Linked DNA regions of Homo sapiens: region 2 is linked to region 1. The links are contacts of gene promoters, found by promoter capture Hi-C in blood cells and fetal thymus (Javierre and others, 2016). All regions are on one chromosome and are shown on one strand. Each heading gives the region's core, a stretch centred on a gene start or on the middle of the fragment in contact. The rest is flanking DNA. Distances are from core to core; before and after follow the strand shown.

What was found. Contacts are between HindIII fragments. The CHiCAGO score rates a contact against its expected background, and 5 or more counts as called.
Region 2: a fragment that was not itself captured here is called in contact with the fragment with the promoter of PPARG in region 1 in 3 of 17 cell types (M0 macrophages, monocytes and M2 macrophages); the score reaches 6.3 in M0 macrophages.

The regions. Positions count from the first base shown.
Region 1 is chr3:12,287,038-12,292,540 of GRCh38, forward strand. It overlaps PPARG (peroxisome proliferator activated receptor gamma), which reads left to right and starts at 2,033. Exons shown (of 8, transcript NM_138711.6): 1 at 2,033-2,097. RefSeq lists an enhancer at 16-594. The HindIII fragment of the contact is 6,976 bases long and covers 1-5,503 here.
Region 2 is chr3:12,383,132-12,389,316 of GRCh38, forward strand. The region is part of intron 4 of PPARG (peroxisome proliferator activated receptor gamma); the gene reads left to right. Among named protein-coding and RNA genes, the nearest start is that of PPARG, 97 kb to the left of the region's middle. The HindIII fragment of the contact is 3,674 bases long and covers 2,050-5,723 here.

The sequences.
Region 1 (5,503 bases), core at 783-3,282:
ATCAGGCCCAGAACAGTATGCTCCAGAAATAAGACTGGAAAAAGGGAAAGAGGGGCCTCAAGTCCAGGAGACCAGCGGCTTTCTGAACGCGCACCTGCCAACCCACTTTGGACAGGTCACGATGGACAGCGTGGCAGGAAAAGAAAAGGTCACTGTCTACCCAACACATGAGAAACTGTTTCTCGTGCCTCACGTCCCCACTCCGTCCCCACCCATGTTGTCTGAGTCCCTCGGTGTCAGAAACACTGCTAAGAAATTTAAGAAATTCTGTTAATGAGTTTAAGAAATGTTTTTAATGATTAAAAGTCAGTGACTTGTGAATAACCATGTAACTTACAAACGCAAGGAACTCTGAAAGTGTGCAGCACCACCGATCAGAAGAGAAAACCAAGGGACCCGAAATATGCTTTAATTAAATTTTCTTTTAAAATGTCACTGGAAAGAACATCTTGGGAAGACGGCCTGGCCGATCGCCGTGTGAAGGGCAAGCCACTCTGGCCGAGAGGGAGCCCCACACCTCGGTCTCCCCAGACCGGCCCTGGCCGGGGGCATCCCCCTAAACTTCGGATCCCTCCTCGGAAATGGGACCCTCTCTGGGCCGCCTCCCAGCGGTGGTGGCGAGGAGCAAACGACACCAGGTAGCCTGCCGCGGGGCAGAGAGTGGACGCGGGAAAGCCGGTGGCTCCCGCCGTGGGCCCTACTGTGCGCGGGCGGCGGCCGAGCCCGGGCCGCTCCCTCCCAGTCGCGCGCCGCCGCCCCCGCCCCCGCCCCCGCCCCCGCCCCCACCCCCACCCCCACCCCCACCCCCAGCCGGCGCCCGCGCCCGCCCCCGCGCCGGGCCCGGCTCGGCCCGACCCGGCTCCGCCGCGGGCAGGCGGGGCCCAGCGCACTCGGAGCCCGAGCCCGAGCCGCAGCCGCCGCCTGGGGCGCTTGGGTCGGCCTCGAGGACACCGGAGAGGGGCGCCACGCCGCCGTGGCCGCAGGTCAGAGTACGGGTGCCCGCGGCGCTCGGGAACCGGCTGCTGGCTGGGCGGGGAGTGCTCAGGGAGGGGGCGCGGAGGGCTGGGGCCGAGGGTCTGGGGGCTAGGGCCGAGGAAACGGGAACTGACGGGGTCCCAGACGGATGAGAGCTGGGGAGAAGGGGGTCTCGGCTGAGGGGTCCGGGGCTGAGGCAGGGTCATGGTCCGGCAGGACCCGGACTGACGGGTCGCGGGCGGGCGGCTCACGGGTGACCGGGTGAAGGGGTCTTGGGCTGAGGGCACCCGGGCTGAGGGTCGCGTCTACCGGAGCGCGCACTAGGGGCGGAGGGCGCGGGCACAGAGAGCCGCGGCCGGTGCCGACTCGAGTGGACGCGAGCCGGTGCGTCCCGGCTTCCAGGACAGCCCCCCTCGGGAGAGCGCCGGGTGGGCGCGGAGCCGGGGACACGGGGACCTCCGCGTCCCCGGCGGAGGTGCGCAAGCGTCGGGAGCCGCTCCGGGGGAACTTTGGAGCAGGGTGTCTGGACCCGGGGAAGCGAAGATCCGCGTGCGTCCGTCCTGAGGCCGCGCGGCACCCCTGCTGAGGAGGAGGTCCCGTTCGCTGTCCAGAGCCCAGGGGCGACCGCCGCTTGGGGACCGGGGGACCGTTCAGCGAGGGGCGCGCTTGTAGCTGGCCAGGCCCTGTGCCCTGACGCGTTGTGCTGGCCCTACGCCCGGCGGAGGGGCTGGGGACGGGGACTGGGTGCCTCCGTGCCTCCGCGGATGGAGCGCGCAGCCAGGACCCCCAGCCGCACCCCGGGGGGCTGGAAAGGCGAAGTCGCTGCTTTGTGGGCTCCTGCAAGTGCCAGGCGCTGACCACTCCTCCTGGGAGCCTAACTGAGGGGGGTAGAGGCAGCAGAGGTTAACAGAAATCTCAGGTCCCTTGGTGGAAGGTGGGTGTGTAGTCGTGGTACTTTACGCCTCGGTGTTTAGGGAGGAGCCTAAGGTAAGGAGTCAGAAACGGGGAGTAACCGAGCTGCGGCTTTTATATAAGGTCAGTGGTAGGTAAGGAAGGGGCCTTAACCTCTGCTGGTGACCAGAAGCCTGCATTTCTGCATTCTGCTTAATTCCCTTTCCTTAGGTGAGTTGGCTCACTCTCATTGCATTTTGTTGGAATGTGTTGGTGATAGGTCCGAAATTTGCAAAATTATTGTATTATCCTTATATCATTTTTTTTTGCAGTGCTCTTGTTTTATAAGAAGAATCCAATTCACTTGGGTCATAGGCTAACGGTTGTAAAAATAGTGTCATTGTTATAAAAGAAATCAAGTCAAAAATAGTCGTCTGCCATGAAGAAACTAAAATTTTTCTTCTTTTCCTTGCAAGATTAGGGACAAAATGTAAAGTTTATTTGTGTAAATTATCATTTGGATATAAAACCAGACAATGATAAACTGAGTTGTATAATACCTATTCCTGGAAAACCTCTGATTTTGAAGTACATTATTTTAACCCCAACTGTTTCTGTCATTCGTGAGACAAATTGTTAACTGGATTTATTAAGAGAACAATGAATAACTTAACTCTTTAAAAGGACCTGGGCAAATCTTCGACAGGTTTCAGGTATTTTATGGCAGTCTTTCTGTCTATTGCTAAGTGATCGATTGCTGACTGAGAACAGAACCAACTGATGGTGCTAGATGATTTAGAAAACCTTTCTGGTATAGGGACTGGCATGGACATTCACTGTGGCTTTTCTCTTAAAGAAATACCTTTCACTCCTAGGGGAGTTTGACAGAAGACACTCATAGATGCTACCAGTTAGCATTTGGAGTAATATATCAAAACATTCTGTTCAAGTTTTAAAGTAAGTTTTGTGTAGTATATTTTCAATCAGATTCACTTTGGAATCAAATACACTTTATTTGATTCCAAATAAAGTGTATTTGAATATTCACTTTAATATACGAAACTTTAAAGGTAATGTCTCAGCCAAAAAGTGAAGTGTATTACAAAACTGTCCATTTTTGTCTTCTTGTGTACTTCACATAATTTTTCTCCCTGATTTAAATTATATGATATTTGATAGTTAACTTGCTAATAATTATGTCTTAAGAGATCTTTGAATCAACTGGTGGCCATCTCAGTCTTTTAAAACTCACTTGAAGGAAAAGAGAAACACTAATGATGGTTTTTTTTAAAATCAAAAACTTTTTTCATATTTACAAGTTTGTTTCTAGTTCTTAAACAATAACTGCTGTAAAACCATGGCATCAGTGAGGTATAAAGTTTTGTAGAATCCCAGGCTGAAGACTTTTTGGATGTCGTTTTCTCATTTCTTTACATTAAAAAGAATATAATTTCTTTTTAAAATTAAAACTAAAATGTCCACCGGCCTCATATTCTTTATTGAACTTAAGTGCTTTGAAAATATTTTTGCGATTGATATTTTTAATGATAAAATATAATATTTTCTTTGAAGGACTAGTTTCCTAAATGTTCATTTTTTTGTATGTTTCAGAACTACTTTTAAAAAAATTCTAGATTATGCTTTAAATTGCAATATTTCTAAATTCCTATGACATTTAAAATGTGTACAAGAGAAAAGGTGTGACATGAGGAATATGAATTAGAAGTGGATTACTAATGGTCGTAGTGAATTGTTTTTAATCAGTGTTATATAAATATAAACAAATACTTTTTTCTTCTGTAATTTTCTGACAATAAGGATGTTAGCCACTAACCTTAATTATCAAGATAATTATGTGCATGAAAGCTGTGTAAAAGGCACAACCGTGGAACATATACAAGTATTAATAATACATTTCATTTAGTTTTCAGGTTATAAAATCGTTATTAATAACAAGAGGCTTTCATGAAGTAGGAAAATATGTTAAAATGACATTTTCTGAATGTTTCACACATTCTGGCCCACACTTTCACTTCTTTCCTAGCATCTATATATTCCCAATGCATAGGACAGAGTTGGTCATTCTAATTGTGGGTGTCTTTCTGCTGGATTCGTTGTCACTTGGACTTGGAAATACAGTATGTCATTAGGTGTGGCAAATGTACTGGAAGAAGTTTTTGGTCTCATAGGATTCCACTAAATAAATATTAGCTGTAGAGGATTTTTAAAAACTCACTAATAGAGAAAACTTGGTGAAGTCACTAGTGTGTAAGCGTAAACATATGCACCCCCCACAACTGAATTTCTAATTTGCTTATTTTTCCTGGTAGATCTCCACTTTGCTTACTCTCTCTTAATATCCCAAAGCAACAAAAAGCGCAGTGATTTTAATTGCTTACAAAGGTCCTTTGAAACGGATCTAATTTGACTCCACAAAAGAATAGTAAGAGTTGTGAACAACCATCTTGCAAGTGTAGATATCCCCAGCGTATCAACTTCAGTTAGTTTCATAGCGTTCTAAATCAAAAATTTAGATTTAAGATTATTTGAAATCTTCTTGGAAGTTCTTACTTACTGTTTGCGTTTTCTCAAAATACAGAGGTAGATTGGGGGAGTAATATAGTATATGTTTTAAAGCTGTTATTTAACTAAAATGTCATGTTTTAAATTTTATTTAATGCACTTAAAGTAGGTTCTTGGGATAAAATCTATTCAGATGCAATAGGCCATGTTTTGGGGAAAACTTTTGTAGATGTTTAGATAATATCTGTCATCAATAATAGTATATGTTTAAATTATTTTGTAAAAACAGATTTACATATTTTTAAAATTTCTCTTCAACAATAAGTACACATCAATATTTTAATGCCGAGAATTTCATTCAGAGTATGACTGTTTACATTTTCAACTGTTTCAATTATTATGGCTTAGGCAAGTACCTTATCCTTTCTCTCAATTTTGTCATCTTTGAAACGGAGAAAGTGTTGCAGTTATTATTGCTTGCTCTTTTGCTATGATTTTAAGGCTTTATGAGCAAACCCATGTACTTTAAATGATGTGACCATGACCCTGAATTTAATTGAGCTGATATTCTGAAAAGAACCTTCATGAATATCTATGTCATAGCTAACTCTTTTACCAATGTTAATAGTTCACTGTAGTTCAAACCTCAATAACTTTGAGATTGTTAAGATTGAAGATGATGCTTCTCATGTGGTGATCAATTTATAAACTGTTTCTGGGAATATTTTATTATCATTCAATTTAAAATTGTATTTTCCATTCCCTGATGACTTTGGACAAAAATCAGCATAGTAATTATTTTTATTCCAGCTTTGCGAGTCCTGTGTAGCCCCTCTTATGTTAATATTATACATCCGATGCATCTAGAAGGCACAGATTGTGCGCTTTGATTTGATAAAGCTCTAGTCTTTGCATATCTTTATGGCACACCTTGTGAATTCTTAACGTATATTCCCCAGGAGCAAGTTCGTTTTATAATGAGGCCTAGGATCCATCAGATCAGAAGACAGTTTAGTGTCACAACTTAAAAGACTAAATAGTGACTTGTGCTTGTCATTAAAAATGGGTCTCTTTCAACAAGCACTCACCAAAAAATAGTGTTTTAGTGGCTTGA
Region 2 (6,185 bases), core at 2,637-5,136, 98 kb after region 1:
AGTCACATACACATTGTATCCTTCATCAGGCCCCCCATATGTAAAATGACTTGGTTAGATTGGCTACACAAGGTCTTATTCATCTCTAAGTTCTGTAATTTCAAAATGACACTTTGAAACACTCTGGCAAGAGATGCTTTCATTTAAAACACTAAAACCCGTTCGTTCTGTAATTTAAACCAAGTTAAAATATTTATGACCTTATATGAAATCATTGTATTAAGTCAGTTATCTAAGATCTTGATGAGTAGTAAGAACATGTCATTTTATTGACTTAGATTTTTTATTGAATGTTTTGTGGTTTTATTGAGTTTTATTTTAGATTTAATGAGTTAGAGTTTATTTTTACTGAGTTGGATACCATTTTTGAGTGAGTAAACTGTTGCTAAATTCTGAGCCATATTTATCTGAAGAAACCATTCTGTTTTGGTCATGTTGATAATTTACAACTATAAATAAATAAAAACAGCATGGTTGGTTTAAGGTTCCACAATAAGTTATTGTTTTTTATGGGCTAGTAAAGCACTTAGAAAACTAAAACTTTTAAGCAAATAGTTCCACCATAATCCTATTAGTCACAAATTTGTGGAAAGCTAACATTACTGAAAACAGCTGAAAATGGAAAGACAAGAACATTGTCAGTAGTTGGTTATAGTGATAAATCTGAGTTCTGAGGGCACTAAAACTTAAAAGCAAGCAGGGAAGAAGAGTAGCAAAAAGAGAAGAGAGAGGAGGAAATCCAAGTGCCTTCAACTTAGGATTAGAAAGGGTAGAAAGCAGGGAGGGAGAAAAAATACTTAATAAAACCTGAAGACTCTAGGGGAGTCCTTAACCTATCATAGATTAAAAAGCAAACATAGAAGAAAACTAAGCGTATTGTATACTAACCTGCAGTAATTTGCAAACCATCCAAAATGTGGATTCCAGAATTCCTAGACTAAAATGTAAGGAAGGTTTTACTCCCTTGGAAAGGGAAAATAGACATCTACACGTTTTAAAGGTAAGAATAAGAAAAATATTATTCTTGGAAAATTTAAACATTTAGTAATATACTACTTAATATAAAGAAAATATGTGAATCCACTTATATTTTGATATGCAGTCTTTCAAAATAATTTTAATATACTCAATGAATAAAATAGCATTTATTGTATACTGATTGCACAGAATAAATTTTTCATAAATATTTACCTTATAAAATAAACCCTGCTTCGGCTGGGGTTTTTATTCGGCGTAAAGATATAGAACAGCAGTTAGGAAAGAATTAGGACATCTTGATTCCTAAATGGATGATGGGTCGAAAAAGGAAACTTTTTTTGAATTCTTATTCTGATTTTTATTGAATTCTTAGTATGTACCAGATACTATGTGAGGTACATTTGCATATATCATTATTTAACCACATCCTACTCAGGTTTTCTCATCTAGAAAATGATTCAGATGATATTGGTAGGATGTGGTTACATAATGAAACATTATCATTTGGCTTCTTCAAGTATACATCAGCAGTTCCCAAAGTGTGGTCTGGGGCTTGGACCCTTTCAAGGCATCCATGAAGTTGAAACTATATTCATAATAATGATTTTTATTACTTTTTTCACTTTCATTCTCTCAGGAGTGTATGTGGAGTGTTCTGGAAGCTACATGATGTAGGATGATGACATAGCTCTGGTAGCTAATGGAATGTTTGCTTATGTGTTCTTGTATATAATAATTTCTCAGTTGTAATTTCTAGTGTGATAAATGTCAGTAAAGATAGCCCACATAAACAAAATCTCTTTGGGGTCTTCTATAATTTTAAAAAGAGTAAAGGGATCTTGCAACCATAAAGCCTTCAGTCTCATTCTGAAGAAATGCAGTTACTCATTCTTTGCTACTTTGAAACTAGACAAAATTGCTGCCACATTCTGAATACTGCTGCATTAGACCAGTGGCTGTCAGTAAAGACATCTCCTTAGCTTATAACCAATACGCAATAAAAAGCCAGGAAAATGGAATTAGCAAATGTGTTTAACTCATCTGCATGTATTTTCTGAGAGGTGTTTTGGAAGCTTCACATTTGCTGTTGTAGTAAAATGTGGGTTATATTCATAATTAAAATACAGTTGACCACAAAGCTGCAGGCTTATCTATGGATTGAAAAGAATAAACACAGCATAAAACAACTTTTGGTAGATCTTCCTAAACAATTTTACAATGTAAATGGAACAGGTTTATATTAGTGATTCTTGCCAAAAATTCAGTCAGACAGATGAGAATGAGTAGATTGGGTTTGAATTAAGGTGAAATAGTTACAGATTCTTGGGTATGTTAATATTGCAAACTTATGTAAAATAAAACCTTTAGCAACTGAAAGATATATATAATTTAGAGCTTGGAAAGCTATCATTTATTTGTTGTTTACATGTTGGAGATATATTTTTTTCTTTGGTAAGTTCCATCCTATTTTTTATCTTTAGTGAAAGATCATTTTGGAACCATAGCCGTACCTAAAGATATAAGTAAATACAGTCTACCATACAATACAATGTAATCTAAGTTTGTATTTCTGTATACAAAAGAATGCCGTATGCTTGTTAGCCACTTGTATGTCTATTCATCCCTACTTCAGAAAGAGTTTTAATTCTTCTCACCTGCCAGTCGTAGCTTATTAATCCAACTTCCAGGGGCCAGACTGCTTCATGGGAAAGCCAACTGCAAGCCCAGCACAGGGCTGTTAATTTCATTGTAAAATCAACAACACCATTCTGAGGTCTCATTGTCCCTGATGTTTTGTTAAAATTAAAGCAATTAAGGAGAGATCAAAGAAAATTTTTCAAATGATATGAAAAATTTGTCTGTTACTTTCTAGCAGACAAATGTGCAGACATTAGAATAAATATATACACAAAACAATTTTCTCAGATGGTGACTGATGCATCTCTAACACACCACATCACAGACTTCCTGATCATCAGAAGAGTAAGTTGTTGAAAATACATTGTTCTATGGACTCTAAAATAATAAAAAAGTGTTATTAGAGTGTTTCTTCATCAGTAATATGAAGAAAATTTGGAGAAGCCAGCCTTGTTCTGTAAATCGATAAATAATTTTACAGAAAAGCACTCGATAATATCCTTACATCTTCCTCTCTAGATTCCTTGAGTCACATAACAAGAAAACACTTGGTTATCATGAACTCGGTGTAAAAAAAGTAAAAGCAAGTTCCAAGATGCATGCTAGGATCTGTGTATTCAGTTCAAGATTTTATTTACATATACAGTGTATAATGTTCAGAATGATTATTCATTGAAAGACCTTGGATCATCACAAAAAATGTGATACACTTTTGAAAGTCATCAGCTGAGTCATGTCAGAAATTTCCATTATAAGAGTTAAACTTAATTCTCTTTTTTTTTTTTTGAACATGTGTCAAAGATTTATTTAAAACCCATTAACGAGGGAAAAGCAGGATGGTAAATCTAGTTCAAAGAAGAACTTGAAGGACCAAGAATATATAGTCACTGAAAGAAAGAATCCTGAGATAAGATTCAGAATGGTTAATGTTCTACAGGGCAATAAAACCATAACCTTGAGGTTATCTTTTCTTTTTTTTATTATTCTTATACTTTAAGTTCTAGGGTACATGTGCACAACGTGCAGGTTTGTTACATAGTTACACATGTGTCATGTTGATTTGCTGAACCCATCAACTTGTCATTTACATTAGGTATTTCTCCTAATGCTATCCCTCCCCCAACCCTCCACCCCCTGATAGGCCCCACTGTGTGATGTTCCCCGCCCTGTGTCCATGCATTCTCATTGTTCCACTCCCACCTGTGAGTGAGAACGTGCAGTGTTTGGTTTTCTGTCCTTGTGATAGTTTGCTTAGGATGATGGTTTCCAGCTCCATCCATGCCCCTGCAAAGGATATGGACTCATCCTTTTTTATGGCTGCATAGTATTCTATGATGTATATGTGCCACATTTTCTTAATCCAGTCAATCATTGATGGACATTTGGGTCAGTTCCAAGTCTCTGCTGTTGTGAATAGTGCCATAATAAACATATGTGTGCATGTGTCTTTATAGTAGCATGACTTATAATCCTTTGGATATATACCCAGTAATGGGATTGCTGGGTCAAATGGTATTTCTAGTTCTAGATCCTTGAGGAATTGCCACACTGTCTTCCACAATGGTTGAACTAATTTACACTTCCACCAACAGTGTAAAAGCATTCCTATTTCTCCACATCCTCTCCAGCGTCTGTTTTTTTCCTGACTTTTTAATGATCATCATTCTAAGTGGCGTGAGATGGTATCTCATTATGGTTTTGATTTGCATTTCTCTGATGGCCAGTGATGATGAGCATTTTTTCATATGTCTGTTGGCTGCATAAATGTCTTCTTTTGAGAAGTGTCTGTTCATATCCCTTACCCACTTTTTGATGGGGTTGTTTTTTTCTTGTAAATTTGTTTAAGTTCTTTGTAGATTCTGGATATTAGCCCTTTGTCAGATGGGTAGATTGCAAAAATTTTCTCCCATTCTGTAGGTTGCCTGTTCACTCTGATGATAGTTTCTTTTGCTGTGCAGAAACTCTTTAGTTTAATTAGATCCCATTTGTCAATTTTGGCTTTTGTTGCTATTGCTTTTGGTGTTTTAGACATGAAGTCTTTGCCCATGCCTATATCCTGAATGGTATTGCCTAGGTTTTCTTCTAGGGTTTTTGTGGTGTTAGGTCTTACATTTAAGTCTTTAATCCATCTTGAGTTAATTTTGTATATGGTGTAAGGAAGGGATCAATAATTCTCTTATCAAAAAAACCTTCCTCTCCTAGCCATGCCAAATAACTGAGCGCTCTGTGAGCCATCCAGCTGTCAGCTAGCCAAGTAGCATTTTCACCCACTAATATTAGTCTTTAAAAAGCAAGAATCAAAAGAGAAGTCAAGGAATATCATAAAATATCTATGATCACAATGGCAAACATCAGGATTTTCACCAACATTTATCAATGAGAACAGTTCTATACATTAGCATTCTGTTCATCTGTGAAAAAAAAACTTTTTGATATCTGAAGGTCCTCAGAACCCTTTGAGAATTAAAGAGACTTCAACTGCCAGCAAATTCTACATCGGGCATATTCTTTAAGACATTGCTGATCTCACAAGAGGTAGTGAAAACTCTCCAAAACAACATCAATGAAACAAAATGAAACAAACATACCCTCAGTTCCAAGCTGTGAGCTGCAGGCACACTTAGCAGGTCAGGGTTTTCCCCATGATAGATGCCCAGAGAGGTACAGTGGTGAGCATTGCCCCAAAGGCAGATGGCTGTAGCAGTTTTCTGAGCAATAAGTGAGAAGGAGCTAAGTGTAGGGCTTCTGAATTAAGCCAGGATTCTCAATAGTGTCTGAAATAGTCATAAGTCAGTAACACCCCTGGCTACTGAATTCCTAATTCAGACTTTGTAGGAGTCCCCCAGTTTAAGGTCAAGAAACTAGTTCCAAATAATATCAGCAAGCATGTGAGAAGCTAACCATCTTGAATGACATTCATCATCAACAAGAAAACTGATACAGACTCCCTGCTCTTCCCCTACCTGGGGAAAGCAGAAATTGGGATTGCCTGATACAGAATATAAAAAAGCTATTATGAATTATTTAAAGGAAGAGGGCATAGGCTTGCAACAATAAACTATTAGGAATAACCAGGATGATTTGAAAACCAAGTGAAAAAAAGGTGAAGCTTCTAAAAGTTAAAAGTATAATTATTGAAATAAAAATTCAGTGGAAGGGTTAGATAGCTTACTGGACACAGCAGAAGAAAAACCTGAAACTGAAAGAGATATGCAAAGAAATTACCAGAATGAAAGCAACAGTGTCTTAAAGAATATGCCCTATCCAGGATCTGCTGGAATTTGAAGGCTTTTAGTTCTTGAAGGATTCATAGGATCTTTGAATATTAAAGAGGTATGTCTTCTTCACTGATCAATGGAAGAGTAAAGTGCAGAACTGTTCTCACTAATGAACTTTAGTGAGAAATGTTTGTTTTTACTTTTGCCAGTGTAATTATATATTTTCATGTTATTTTGCTTCTGTTCTGATTTTTACTTTGGCAATCAATATTAGTGAGTAAGTAGTGAGAAGAAGATGGAAAATAAAAAAGAGGCATTCAGAAATGTGAAGGCTAGAATAAGAAAGTCTAG